Regions from separate parts of the Homo sapiens genome. Here all the other regions are linked to region 2. The links are contacts of gene promoters, found by promoter capture Hi-C in blood cells and fetal thymus (Javierre and others, 2016). All regions are on one chromosome and are shown on one strand. The core of a region is centred on a gene start or on the middle of the fragment in contact, and the rest is flanking DNA. Distances in the headings are between cores, read along the strand shown.

Region 1 (3,900 bases), core at 812-3,311, 500 kb after region 2:
TTTTCCACCATCTGCTCTTTTTTAAATAACTTTTTCCTAAATATGGTAGATCATGGCTCCCCTTAACTTTCAACCGACAAAGCAGCCATACCTACCTCTTTCTAAGATGAAATTGTGACACTGATCTCACAGGTGCCTATGCCATGTAAACAGCAGGAATGTCACCTTGGGTAGGCCCAGGGTATGGAACGTAATAGAGAGCCCTGTGTATAGGACAGGGTCACTCCTTAGCTGATACTTCTAAGGACCCATCACAGGCAAGTGGAATTTCTCTATCCTGACTTCATTCCCAGGTCAATGCTGACATATAGAGTTCTAAATCTAGATAATTTGTAATTAGTGAAGTTGAAAATATACCATAATTTCAGCAAAAAAAAAGGGGTCTTGTACTAGATAGTACTAATGGGTTAAGCGAGTTAAATTAATTAGGCTTTTAAGGATCTCAGCCTTATTTCTTCTATCACTCATTCCTTATCTTCAAACTGAGTCTTTGGTGGATGTAATATAATCTCATCTTAGGTATATATGAGCACAGAACGGCCATTAAAATCCATCACAGACCAAAAGAAGAGACTGATTTTAGGTCAGTCCTTTTTCATTTTGTAACAACAGTAATTCTACTTATAGAAAACAGACTCTCAAATCTCAAAAGTTTAAAGTTTCATTAGAAAAATCATAAAAATAAGAAAAGTATTCATCAAGAATGATAATAGTATAATTTCATTATCAAATTCATTTAAAACATGAATTACAGTACAGCAAGAGAAGTGACAGCATAAAGTCTTATATAATTTTAAAAACAAACATCACACCATATGGTTTTAATAAAAGGCAATTGCAGTTCCAATTTCCAAGCTGTATCCTTAAGTTGAGGGTTTTCCGTAGTTGGTTTTACATTAAACTATCTCCATAACAAGTTTAAAGGTGTATGTCATTTCATCACCAAGTATTTTAGTCCCAAAATGTATAAACCAAGCATCTGATAATGAGGTATCTTGTCGCTGCCTCTCTTTTATTTGAGGAATATAAAATTTAAGGTCAATCCAAGTTCAAGTCCACACCACAGTGCTATCTAGCACATGAATATTTGTCCTCCTTTGCTTCTTAGGAAGCGTGATTAGGAGTCATAGCCACAAAATTGAGATTATGATGATAAACTTTTTTTTTTTTTTTAAGTCTGCCTGCTAAGTTCTATCTCTTCTTTCACCCACCCCTGGAATCTCCACCTCCCCTATCAAATTTAGATTTGGGAAGAGTTTTTGTTCAAAGTCTCTTAATTTCTTCAGTATTCAAATTATATCTGAGTTTATTTAAAACTTAAAAAAAAAGAAGAAAAAAGCTTACCTCTTTTTATTGTTTCATCAAGAAAATGTTAAAACCCTGACAAAAGCTTACCATCTTTTCCAACTCTATTCTATCAAGGCCCTGTCAGCACTAGCATGATACCACAGACTGGATCTTTTTCCATTATTTATTCCCAAAAATTAGCAAAATCCTTTGTAATTAGCTGAAGTCTATCAGAATAAATTCAGTCTCTGAAGATGAAGCTACTTGAGTTGTTCCATTCTGTTCACGCACATAACAAAAGGCAGAATCATTCATTTATCCTGAAAAAAACCAGACAGTGTGTGTGACAACTGCAAGCAAGGCTCGCTAAGACATTCTTGCAGCTCAGAGAAATTAAAGCAAAGTGCAAGCTGGAAGTGAGTTCTAAAGTTAAGTCTCCCACTTGAAATTTAATTACAATAAAGAAGGTTAGAGGAGGATGAATAGGTTCAATGTCTTCAACAATTATCGAGGTGGAAAGCCACCTCTGTGTGCTCCTCCACGGCCCCCTCTAAAGCCACCTCTTTCTCCTCGGAAGTTAGATCTATTTCTTTCTCGTCCACGGCCAGCAGAAGTTCCACCTCTTCCTCCACCTCTGGGAGCTCCACCTCCTCGGTCAGATTTAGATTTGGGAGGAGGCGATTTTGGTCGAAGTCTCTCAATTTCTTCTGTACAACCAGTCAAGTAGGAATTAGGAGCACTGAAATAGGATGCATATGTTTCTGCATTGTAGTTGCTATTTGTAAGCGTTGGTCCAACTGTGAGCCAGCCTGAAATGGAGGAAAAAAAGATTATACTTTTTATTTGCAATTCTCTCTTATTAATTCTTTAGAAGCTAGTTCAAATCCCCAATGCATTCTTAAAGATGTCCCCATCATTCATCCAATACTGATCTCTTTTACAGAATGGCACTTAATTGTGGTCATGTTTTAAAGATTTCACAGGTATATATCTTGTTTCTCCTCCTAGATTGTAACTTTTGTAATATATCCTCCTCATCCACGTACTATCTTTTGTGAGAATAGAACTTAGAGAAAAAAAATCCCATACATTACACTGAGTTTGGGTTTAGTGAAACTGTAATAAATTATATATAATCTTCCTATTTATGTAAATGGTGCCATTTTCTGATTAAAATCTTGGAACCAACTTTTGCTCTACACTTGCTAACTAGAAAATATTCTCAGTTGATAGGTCTGAGAAATTCAACCACTACCATGTTACTCCCACTCATTCCTATCTTTCCATTTCTGCTGCCACCCTCAAATTTAAGCCTTTATTTTTTTTTACAAGGTCAATACCCTACCATATAACACATGTGTAACAGACACACATATATACTGTAATGATCTCCCAACCTATAGCTTCTCCTCCCTCTAAAAGTGGAAAGCCTAAAGCAAAGCTTAAAACATGTCACTTCTCTGCTCAAAAACCTTCCAACTGTTTCCACAAAGCCCAAATTCATAAATATAAAATCTAAGATCTTTTACAATGATGGCTGAATGAACTTTCCAATAACATTTCTCATTAATGCTTTTCATGAACCTCTAAGGAAAACAATGAACTACTATAGTAACTGCTTCTATACTAACCCCGATTTTTGTGCCCATATTATTTTCTTTTCTATCCTGTCAACCTGTTAAAAATCCCACCCTTCAACATCCAATTCAAATATATTTCTTACATGAAATGAAAATTATTTCTTCTTTCTCAGAATTTCCACTGCACATTATACTTCTGTAGGTAAACAGCTATTTTGCCAATTATATTGCTAGACAACTTTTCTTGTAATAAGGATATTTTCTGATTGATTAAACTGTCTTTAGAATGGAAGGAACTACAAATACCCAATACAGACACGGTGCTCTGGGGTTCTTTGGGTGTGGTGACTCTTACAGACATGCCCTTTGTAGGGGACCCTGAAAATATGCCTCTGGAGCATTATAAGAGACACAGCATTATTTGGGACAGGTCCAATTATCTGTAAGAATTAGGTTATTTATCTGCAAAGTTAGGTTTATAATATATCTGCCCCATCATCCTTAGGTTATTTCTTAGAAAAGTAGATGCATCATAAAAAGCTATAAAATGAAAAATATTTCACTAGGATCACATTCTAAAATACAGTAGCCATTTCTGTACAATACTTAGTTCATTGTTTTTTAAAACATTTTTAGTTTCTAAAAGTGCATGAATACAGTAAGATTTGTAATAGTTGAAGAAAAAAAGGTTAATTATACTGTGTCTTTTATGTATTACCTGGCAGATACCATGATCAAGAGCACATTCCACACCTATGGGCTCTCACTGACTATTAAACCTATGAGATTTTTATTTGCTGCCTTCTAGTTTGTTTTTTGGCATGTTTGTGGTATTATGGAAGATAATATTCAATATATGTGGAACACAACACCACAAACAAGGAATAAGAAACAGAAAATTTAAAGATATAATAAAAATAACTAATACTCTGTCTCCCTTGCTATACTGTCTCTTACGTAAAACATGGAAATCCTTGCAGAGTAAACTGGCTATAGAAGTCCAAGGGATTCCCCTCTCTTCCAAATTCTGCAC
Region 2 (4,229 bases), core at 1-2,500:
CCTTTTCTTTTAATAACTAAAAGTGAATCAGATCTTAATCACAAAAACCTTCCTAAGTGTACTGCGTTTTTTTGTTTGTTTGTTTGTTTTTTGGAGACGGAGTCTGGCTCTGTCGCCCCTGCTGGAATGCAGTGGCGCGATCTCGGCTCACTGCAACCTCCGGTTCAAGCAATTCTCCTGCCTCAGCCTCCCGAGTAGCTGGGACTACAGGTTAAGTTTACTATTAAACCTACCTCAAAAATAGCCTTAGATATTCTTTGCAAATATATATATTTATACATACATACATACACACACACACATATATATATATATATATATCTATTTCCAGATAAGGAAACTTTCGGAAAACTTTGCTGTCCAACTGGTAATTCCCTGCATACTTTGCATTGATAAAGAAAACCTTGTAGCAGGGTTACAAACCTCAAAACATCCTCAGATTGCAGGTTTTAGAAACCCTCCCTATTACACCTGTGCAAGTACTTCCTGTTCTCCAACACTGTTTAAAAATAGTTTGGTAAATGCCCCGTAAGCCGCCCTTTAGAAGCTAAACATTAACTTTATATACATCACCACTACCACTGAGAAACCACCACCCCAAGAATCTCACGAGTCCAGTCATCTCTCTTCTCCAAGGAGGGAGCATAACCATCCTGGACCCCTTTAAGTAAAAAACTGTGTGCTCAGGCGAGGCAATGTGGCTTGGACAGCCAGGGGCAGGAGCCAAGTAAGGGTATTACTCACAATCCCAGCAGGACTCCAGCTTGTCGCCGCCCTCAAACACGGCAGCAATAACATCCAGGACCCAACAAGTACAGCACCTCCTCCCGCCTCGCGAGCGCCTCCAGCCTGGCCAGAGGCATCTCCGCCAGACGCGGCGAGAAGGGGCGAAAGGGCTGCGTGACCTCTGGCGTCTGAACCGCCCAGCAAAGAGAGTGTGTGTGTGCCCAGAGGGCCGGGGCCATAGGAGGTCGCCGGGCTGCGAGGGGAGAGACGAGCTCTGGGGCTAGAATGAGAGTGTCCCGGTCAGGCCCGCGGGGGTCGCAGGTCTCTGGATCTCCAACCAGAGGGCTAGTTTCGGAGACTTACCTTGAGCTCTACCCTCCTTGCGCGAGGAGCGTGCGGTCCAGGTAGAGAAATACAGGCCTTCCACTCCCACAGAGCTACCTCCCGCTGGCCCAGCCCCGCTTCACGCCGACACCCGCCAGACACACTGACTGCTGCCACAGTACCGAGGCTCACCGGGAACTGGAGCACAGGCGGCTGGTCTCCGCCGCCCAGAGCCCGACCCTGTGAGCGGAGCATGCGCATACGCCCCAATACCCAGGGACCAGTCAGGCCAGTGACACCTGCGATCAACAGGTCCCTGGAGCCCCGCCCCTCTCCCCGCCTCGAGCCCGCCCCTCGGAGCGGGCTCCGCCTTCACGCTCACCGAGGTAACTCCGCCTCCGCTCGCGATTTCCCGGCTTTCTGGACCTGCGGAATTCTATTCCCGCGGGGATTTGATGGCGTGCGCGATACAGTTGGCTTCCTCGGAGGCGCGAGATCGCGCGAGACCAAGAGATAGAACATTTCTGCAAAAGCGGCAGCTTGGCGCTGGAGTTTGGTTGTTGGGGGAAAGGTGGTTGTAGGACGTGCTGTCTGGTGTGGTGAGAAAGAGGCTAGTTCTTCAGGAGGAGGCGATTATTCTGGTGCTCTTGGTAGTTCATTCGGTATTTTCTAAGCTCAAGAACGCGGATCCACCAAGGACTTCACTTAGGTTAGGTGTTACCTGAGAGAACAATCCGTAGTTTGGCATCAGAACCCCATGCGGACACGCAGTTTCCTTTAGATTTCCGTGAGTCGTTAGACGATCTATTTGCAGTTAAATGGCTTCCTGTGGCGTGAATGTGTATTCCCCAAGCAGTTGTTTCTTGCCTTTAATTAGATAGCTTTAATAAGTCTGTTGACCTGGTTAATGATTGTCAGAAAAGTCTGTCCGCCTCTTTGCCGTGCTTTCGAACAGGTTTTAAGTTAAAAGGTACTGCTGGGAATTGGGCTAAACTTTGATTTTGAATAAACCTTTCTTAGGAATAGTAGTAAAGGAAAAACCCATCGTCACTGATACCGAATATCTCTCAAGTAAATAAAGAAGGTTTTGGAACTCATTCCAAAGCTGGTGTAAGTTGAACATACTAATTGTAAAAATGGATTTCAGTAAACCCAGAGGCACTTCTAAAAGTTTATTTGAAGAAAGAGGGGGAAGAAATATTGGTCGTTGATACAGGAGACAAATAGGACCCGTTTGTAATGTCTGAGGCTGAATCATTAAGAATTTATTGAGCATTTACTATGTTCCCTTTACTGAACTAGGCACTGTCAGAAATAGGATGAAATAAAGCCGTGGTTTCTGCCCTCAAAATATTAAAAACTTTGGGAGGGGTGGGGGAAAAAAAGATCCTACTCTGCATTTTTAAAACAATAAGAGCACACCATTAACTCTTCCCTCCGTTTCTCTAATGTCATTTTCTCCTCATTCTGCAGCTACTTTTCTGGTGCACTTTAAATACTGTTTTTCCGCTGCGTGGTCTCTGTTCGCCAGCACTCCATTTTCTTTTGCTGTTTCTGTTTAATGTTAATCCATGTCTCCTTGAGCAGTCTCTTTCCCATCATGGATTTACCTACCACGTGTCCTGTGCACCAAGAACTCTCAGGTGTATATCTATACGTCGGACATTTTTAAGCAACATCCTTTGGATTTCACACAGTATCTTAAATATGTCCCAAATTGACATGGACATCTTTACTATAATCTGTTCCTGATGCCATGTCCCTCTTCACCCATCTGGAACCTACACCATTTCCATTCCCTGTTTCAGAAAATGACACGCAACTGCCCAAGTCAGAAATCTATGAGTACCCCTGTTACTTTTCCTTCATTTCCTCTTTTCTAATATCAAATTTTGACTCTTATTTCCTTAAGTATCTCTCAGGTCCACCCCTCCACTCTCACTGTCTTAGTCCTTCAAGTAATCACCATCTCTTATGACTCATCTTCCTTGTACTATTGCAATATTCACAAGATATCCTCTAGTTATTTCCCACACCAGTCCAACCTCCATTCTATTAATAATTTTTCTAACGTGAAAATACGATCATTATACTTCTCTGCTAAGAATTTTTCATTACCCACCGGCAGGGCCTTTCATGATCACACTGTTAAACTCATCGCCATTCTTCCTCCAGTTCCTCCACATTAATCTTTCTAAAGTCCTTGCTTTCTATGTTCTTGGTTCTCTCAAGATCCTTTGGTTCTCTCTCGAATGCTTATCTCCATGGATCTTTTCATAACTTTCTGAGACAAAATTGTCATCCCTTTTGGGACTTATTTTTATAACAATTATGTTGTACTATATTTATTTCTCTGCAAATGTACCTGACAGAGTAACCCCCACCTCCACCCTTGAGAAATAATTTGAACTGTGGATAATAATGGCTTATACTACCTCCCTTCCTTATTTAGCAATTACAGAAGAATACCCTTCAGTTCACCCTGCTCAAGAATTTGACTAAACCCTGACTATACACTTTTAAAATTATATAATTTCATACTTTCTACCAGTTTTTAGCATATCTATGTACCGATCCTTAAATGGTAGAGTTGTAATAGGACCCAATTTAAGCATCAAGAGGGCAGAGTCTGAAGCAAACATGAAAAAATGGAAAATTGACATTGCAGGACAGCTGTTGCTCCCAGAAAATTTGTAATTGGGAAAGTCACAACAAGGATTTAAAATATTTTAATTCTTACTATTTGTCCTTGAGGGACGTGTGTGGGTTTGATTCCCTAGTTTCTGATTGGCTGGACCCAAATTTGTGAAGACCAATCTCTGCACCTCACACAGGCAAAGAGATCATGAAAGGGAGCAGGCTTGGCATGCCAAAGAATACCCTAGATCATTCAGCTGAGGCTTAGCCAAAGTTCACACCACCAGCACATATACACACCTCTTAGTGTTATTCTGGATTGATTATAACTCAGACTTTGAGAAATGTGCTACCCTGTGGCTAGATGCACCCTGCCACTAATGTCTGGTAGGAATAGCAACATTGTGTCCTGCGGAGCTGTAACCCAGTAGTTCCAGGAGGTAATCAACAGCTTAACCATGACTGAGCTGGGTGGGGTAGAGTGAAATATAGCATAGGGAAGTAGTAGATCAATGACTGACTCAGGGTTAGATACTAGACAG
Region 3 (4,267 bases), core at 617-3,116, 290 kb before region 2:
AAAAAATAAAAATATAGCACCAAAAGACATTTCATCTTCCACTTGAAATTGTTTTATCTTAAAGTAAGTATCAGAAGGTATTTTCTGAATAGTTTTCTGTTTAGCCTAGAATCTAAAATGATTTAGTATTTAAAAATAATGTTTATGGTTGTAATTATAGATTATTGTCATTAATTAGATCCATGCCACAATTTCAGCATCTAGTTATCCTTTAATCAATGTGTTTTGGCCCCAGCCTAACATACCCAGAAGTTCTCCTGTCTTCATAACAAATCCCTTGCCTTCAGATCTCATTCCTAAGCGTCTGGGTTTTTTCTTGGCCCTAAGATATAGGAAGCACATCTGACTCAACTTACAGATGTTGTTTTGATTGTATTCTGAGTGCATGGTCTGTGTATTTTACTTAGTTCAAGATTAGAGAACCACTATGCTTTAAATTACAGATAAGAAATAAAAAATGGTTACATAGTGAAAACTTTGAATGATTTGCACATGGATTAGCTACCTTTTAAATATTCCTTATAGATGTTTCAACCCACGCTTTCTTTCACCACTGACCAGTAAGCACCCTTTGGCTCATGCCCTTTACCCATCTATATTAAGATGTTCCTAAGGAATATGCACTGTTATCATAACTGACCAAGTTAAAATTATATAAATTTGCACCAGAAATGTTACTGGATTTATTTAAAATGCCATAGAGAAGTTTAAAAATTTTACCACTTCTTTCTTCATATCCATTAATATGGCTTTTTTTTCAAAGTTTTACATGCTGTTAAATTATAGCGATTAGTCTGCCCTACGGAAAAGGATAGCTATTAGATTTTAAGTCTGGACTAAGGCTTAAGGAGTATAAGAGTTGGAAAAACATGCATATGTAGGCAGATGAAGCATTATGAAGCGGTTTACATGTATGACAGAGGGGTTGGGTGGGAACATAGAGGGGAAACTTTATTTCATGGTATTTAAGTGTGTCCTCCACATTCATTAGAATACTGGGCATGTGTTTAAGATATGTGAATATATTTCTAGATTTTGTTCTTGTCAGCAGCTTCTCCAGGATGTTAATACTGGTTTTCTTTTTTTATAAAGGGCAATCAGATTCTCAGTGGCCTCTCCATTGAAGAATATAAGACCACGTTGAAAATAATCAAGCAAGCTATTTTAGCTACAGACCTAGCACTGTACATTAAGTAAGTTTTAAGAAATAACCTGAGAAATAGGTATTTGAAGTCTTTTCATTGTTTCAAACTTTTGACATCCATATTGAGAAATTTCAAAGCAGAAATGTCCTGGCAAAACTGCTTATCAGAATACGGAGCAGTTTCTGAAAGGGTAGCCAGAAAAGTCTACTCCTTTGGCTTATACTGCTGAAAATTAAGAATACCTATTATTTCTGATGTTTATCTACCACTGTGTCTCTGAAACTATATACAAATCTAATAGCCATCTCAAGGTCAGTCATTCCAAGCCATGTTGTCCAAAGATTATATAGATCATTTGCTTTTCCTCCTTTCCCTTGCTCCCCACAACTTCTGACCATTTCATGACTCCTTTATACCGTCATTCAAGCTTAGTTGGGCAGGAAAAGGAGTTACTGCCAAGCAAGTAACTCTTGTTTCTTTTTATTTGATTTTGGCAGGAGAAGAATATTTATGTAGAACTTTGAAGTTGTTGATTCTAAAATAAGAGTATACATTAGAGTTGTCTCTGTGATTATGCATTTTCATGATTAAACTGCCTTTCTAAAAGCTAGAAAATACTTTCCTGCATTTGAGCAATCATAAGTTTCCAACTCCTAGCTGAGATCTTTGACGCATGTGTGGGAATGAGGGGAGTCAGGGAATCACTCTCAGGATTTCCTTGTAACATGAGTCTCTCTCCCTCTGTAAGGAATTCACATTCATGGTTGTAGTTACTCTTAGGAGAAGTAAAAACACATAGAAAAAACACAAAAACATCTGCCAGATATCTACTGTTATACATCTAGAAGTAACTGCATGTGCCTACTTAATTGGTTTTTAGAGCATTTTGAGGTTAAGACAAAATAATATATATTAATAGTAAACTTCAGTTTATTAAAAATAATTGCAGAATAAGGATTATCAAATTACCAAGAATTTGAAAAATACCTGTAACCACAATGCCTTTCTAAGCTTTACAGGCCACATGGGTCTCTCCTTTGAACCCTTATGAAACATACTTTTCATTTTTTATAACCATATACTATCAGTTTTATTACGTAAGTTTTTCTTGAGTCTTGTGTCTCCAGGTAGATATTAAACACTGCGAAAAGAAAAATTTTTGTCTTATGCCTTCTCAAAATGCTTAACAATACTGGGCACATAAAGAGGTATTCACTGTACACCAAATATTATTATATTCACTGAATAATAACAAATATTATTTTATTTTAAACTTTACCTAGTCTTTGTTTACTTCAGAAGCACTTCACAACTTTAGATATTTTTATCCCCTACCATGAAATAAATGATAAACTGAAACCTATAGATCTTATTATGCCATGCACTTAAAATACCTGAAATCATTCTCAGCATCAAATTTTTAACTCATACTGTTTCATTTTTCTTAAAATAACAAATATTCAAGAATTGAAATTACCATAATTTGTGATCTATAGTTAAAAATTAGGTGAGGTTTAATGTTTTATCGAAAGCAAATGATAGAAGGGGGAAAGTGAGGTATTAAAGATTTGTAAATGATGATTTTATAGTGGGCTCTAAGATGGGAAAAAAAATCAGAGGTTTTTTTTCACCAAAATTTAGTCCATGAGTCTTTGTGGACCAAAGGGATAAGACCCTGGGTACTCATTATAACTAACAATTTTTTTTTAAACATTGTAGGAGGCGAGGAGAATTTTTTGAACTTATAAGAAAAAATCAATTCAATTTGGAAGATCCTCATCAAAAGGAGTTGTTTTTGTAAGTAGGTTTACTATCTTTAAAGCTGAAGTTTTTTACCCAGTTAATTTTCTCACTATTTTTTCCTCACTGTTAGTTTTTATTGCAATTATTTGTTACAATATGATGATCTTAAAAGCGGTCAGATTTCTCCAGAGGGTTGTACAAAGAGTAAATTTGAATATTTACTTGAAAAGAAATGCATTTGCAAATCCAAGTGAATGAACTGTTCCTTTGTTCTAGAAAAACCTTTAAAATGTGGTAGAGTATCAATATATGGCTATAGGTTTCCCTTATTCATTTTCCTAATTCATTGTAATGGAAGTGCTGAAAATGGAATTATAAATGTTGTGGAAGTAAGATATAGCTGCAAAATGTTTACTTCTCTTAAAGAAAATCTGAAAAGGTAGAGCAGTGAGGTCAGGGTCCAGACATGGAAGGAATACTATTAAGTCTCTATGATTAAAACAGTTTGATATTGGTGGCAGACCAGTGGAACACAGCTGAAAATCTAGAACTGCATAAGACATATAGTGTATAATAAAGATAACATTTCCAGTGACTGGAGGAAAGAGAGAGATAAGTGGATAACCAAATGGAAAAAGACAAAATTGGATCTACTCTACAGACTTAAATTCCAACTGAAGCATAGAGTTCAATGTAGAGAATTAAATCATACAAGCATTAAATAAAAATATAGATGGATTCTTCTATAACCTAGGAGTGAGAAAACTTTCCTAACTATAATTCAACATGCAGAAACAATAAAGGAGAAAGCTGAAAAACATGATTAATCATTCAAAGGCTTTTCATTTAGAAGTTACCATGTGTGTTGAGTGAATTAGGATGACCTACTATAATTTCTGATATAAGACTTTTATCAGTATGATACCTGATGTTGTACTTTAATGGTTATTAGTAATCAATGTACTTTCATCATACTGTCGCTGAGAATGGAATACTAAGGTGACAAAAATAATAAAAGCAGGCAAGATTTTACCCAAGGTTAATAATTTTTCAGTCTGCCAATCTGGAGCTAAATGAGGCAGTTTGAGGACAAATTCCAAAAGTTCAAAGGGAAACTGAAACAATGATGCTCTGTTATCAATGTATTAGTTAGACTTTCATATAAATTGTTTCTTTTTCTTTGGTCTTTATAAACTGCCATTTCCATTGTTTAGAGGGTTTTAACTTTTTTTTATTAGTAACTATTTACTGAGGGTATATAATAACACAAAAGTAAATAGGAGTTTTGGGTTTCTTTTTTCCATAACAGGGCAATGCTGATGACAGCTTGTGATCTTTCTGCAATTACAAAACCCTGGCCTATTCAACAACGGGTATGT

The links. Contacts are between HindIII fragments. The CHiCAGO score rates a contact against its expected background, and 5 or more counts as called.
Region 1: a fragment that was not itself captured here is called in contact with the fragment with the promoter of USP53 in region 2 in 1 of 17 cell types (activated CD4 T cells); the score reaches 6.2 in activated CD4 T cells.
Region 3: a fragment that was not itself captured here is called in contact with the fragment with the promoter of USP53 in region 2 in 1 of 17 cell types (neutrophils); the score reaches 6.8 in neutrophils.

Annotation. Positions count from the first base shown.
Region 1 is chr4:118,708,194-118,712,093 of GRCh38, reverse strand. METTL14 (methyltransferase 14, N6-adenosine-methyltransferase non-catalytic subunit) reads right to left here. Exons shown (of 11, transcript NM_020961.4): 11 at 1-2,096. The coding sequence ends at 1,792. Among named protein-coding and RNA genes, the nearest start is that of METTL14, 25 kb to the right of the region's middle. The HindIII fragment of the contact is 1,338 bases long and covers 1,393-2,730 here.
Region 2 is chr4:119,209,734-119,213,962 of GRCh38, reverse strand. USP53 (ubiquitin specific peptidase 53) reads right to left here and starts at 1,250. Exons shown (of 19, transcript NM_001371395.1): 1 at 1,090-1,250. LOC101929762 (a long non-coding RNA gene) reads left to right here and starts at 1,319. Exons shown (of 3, transcript NR_125931.1): 1 at 1,319-1,436. RefSeq lists enhancers at 856-905, 611-1,184, 1,516-1,635, 1,758-2,332, 3,488-4,229 and a silencer at 1,256-1,385. The HindIII fragment of the contact is 14,070 bases long and covers 1-4,229 here.
Region 3 is chr4:119,504,530-119,508,796 of GRCh38, reverse strand. PDE5A (phosphodiesterase 5A) reads left to right here. Exons shown (of 21, transcript NM_001083.4): 16 at 1,093-1,193; 17 at 2,865-2,942; 18 at 4,198-4,261. Among named protein-coding and RNA genes, the nearest start is that of LINC01061, 96 kb to the right of the region's middle. The HindIII fragment of the contact is 584 bases long and covers 1,575-2,158 here.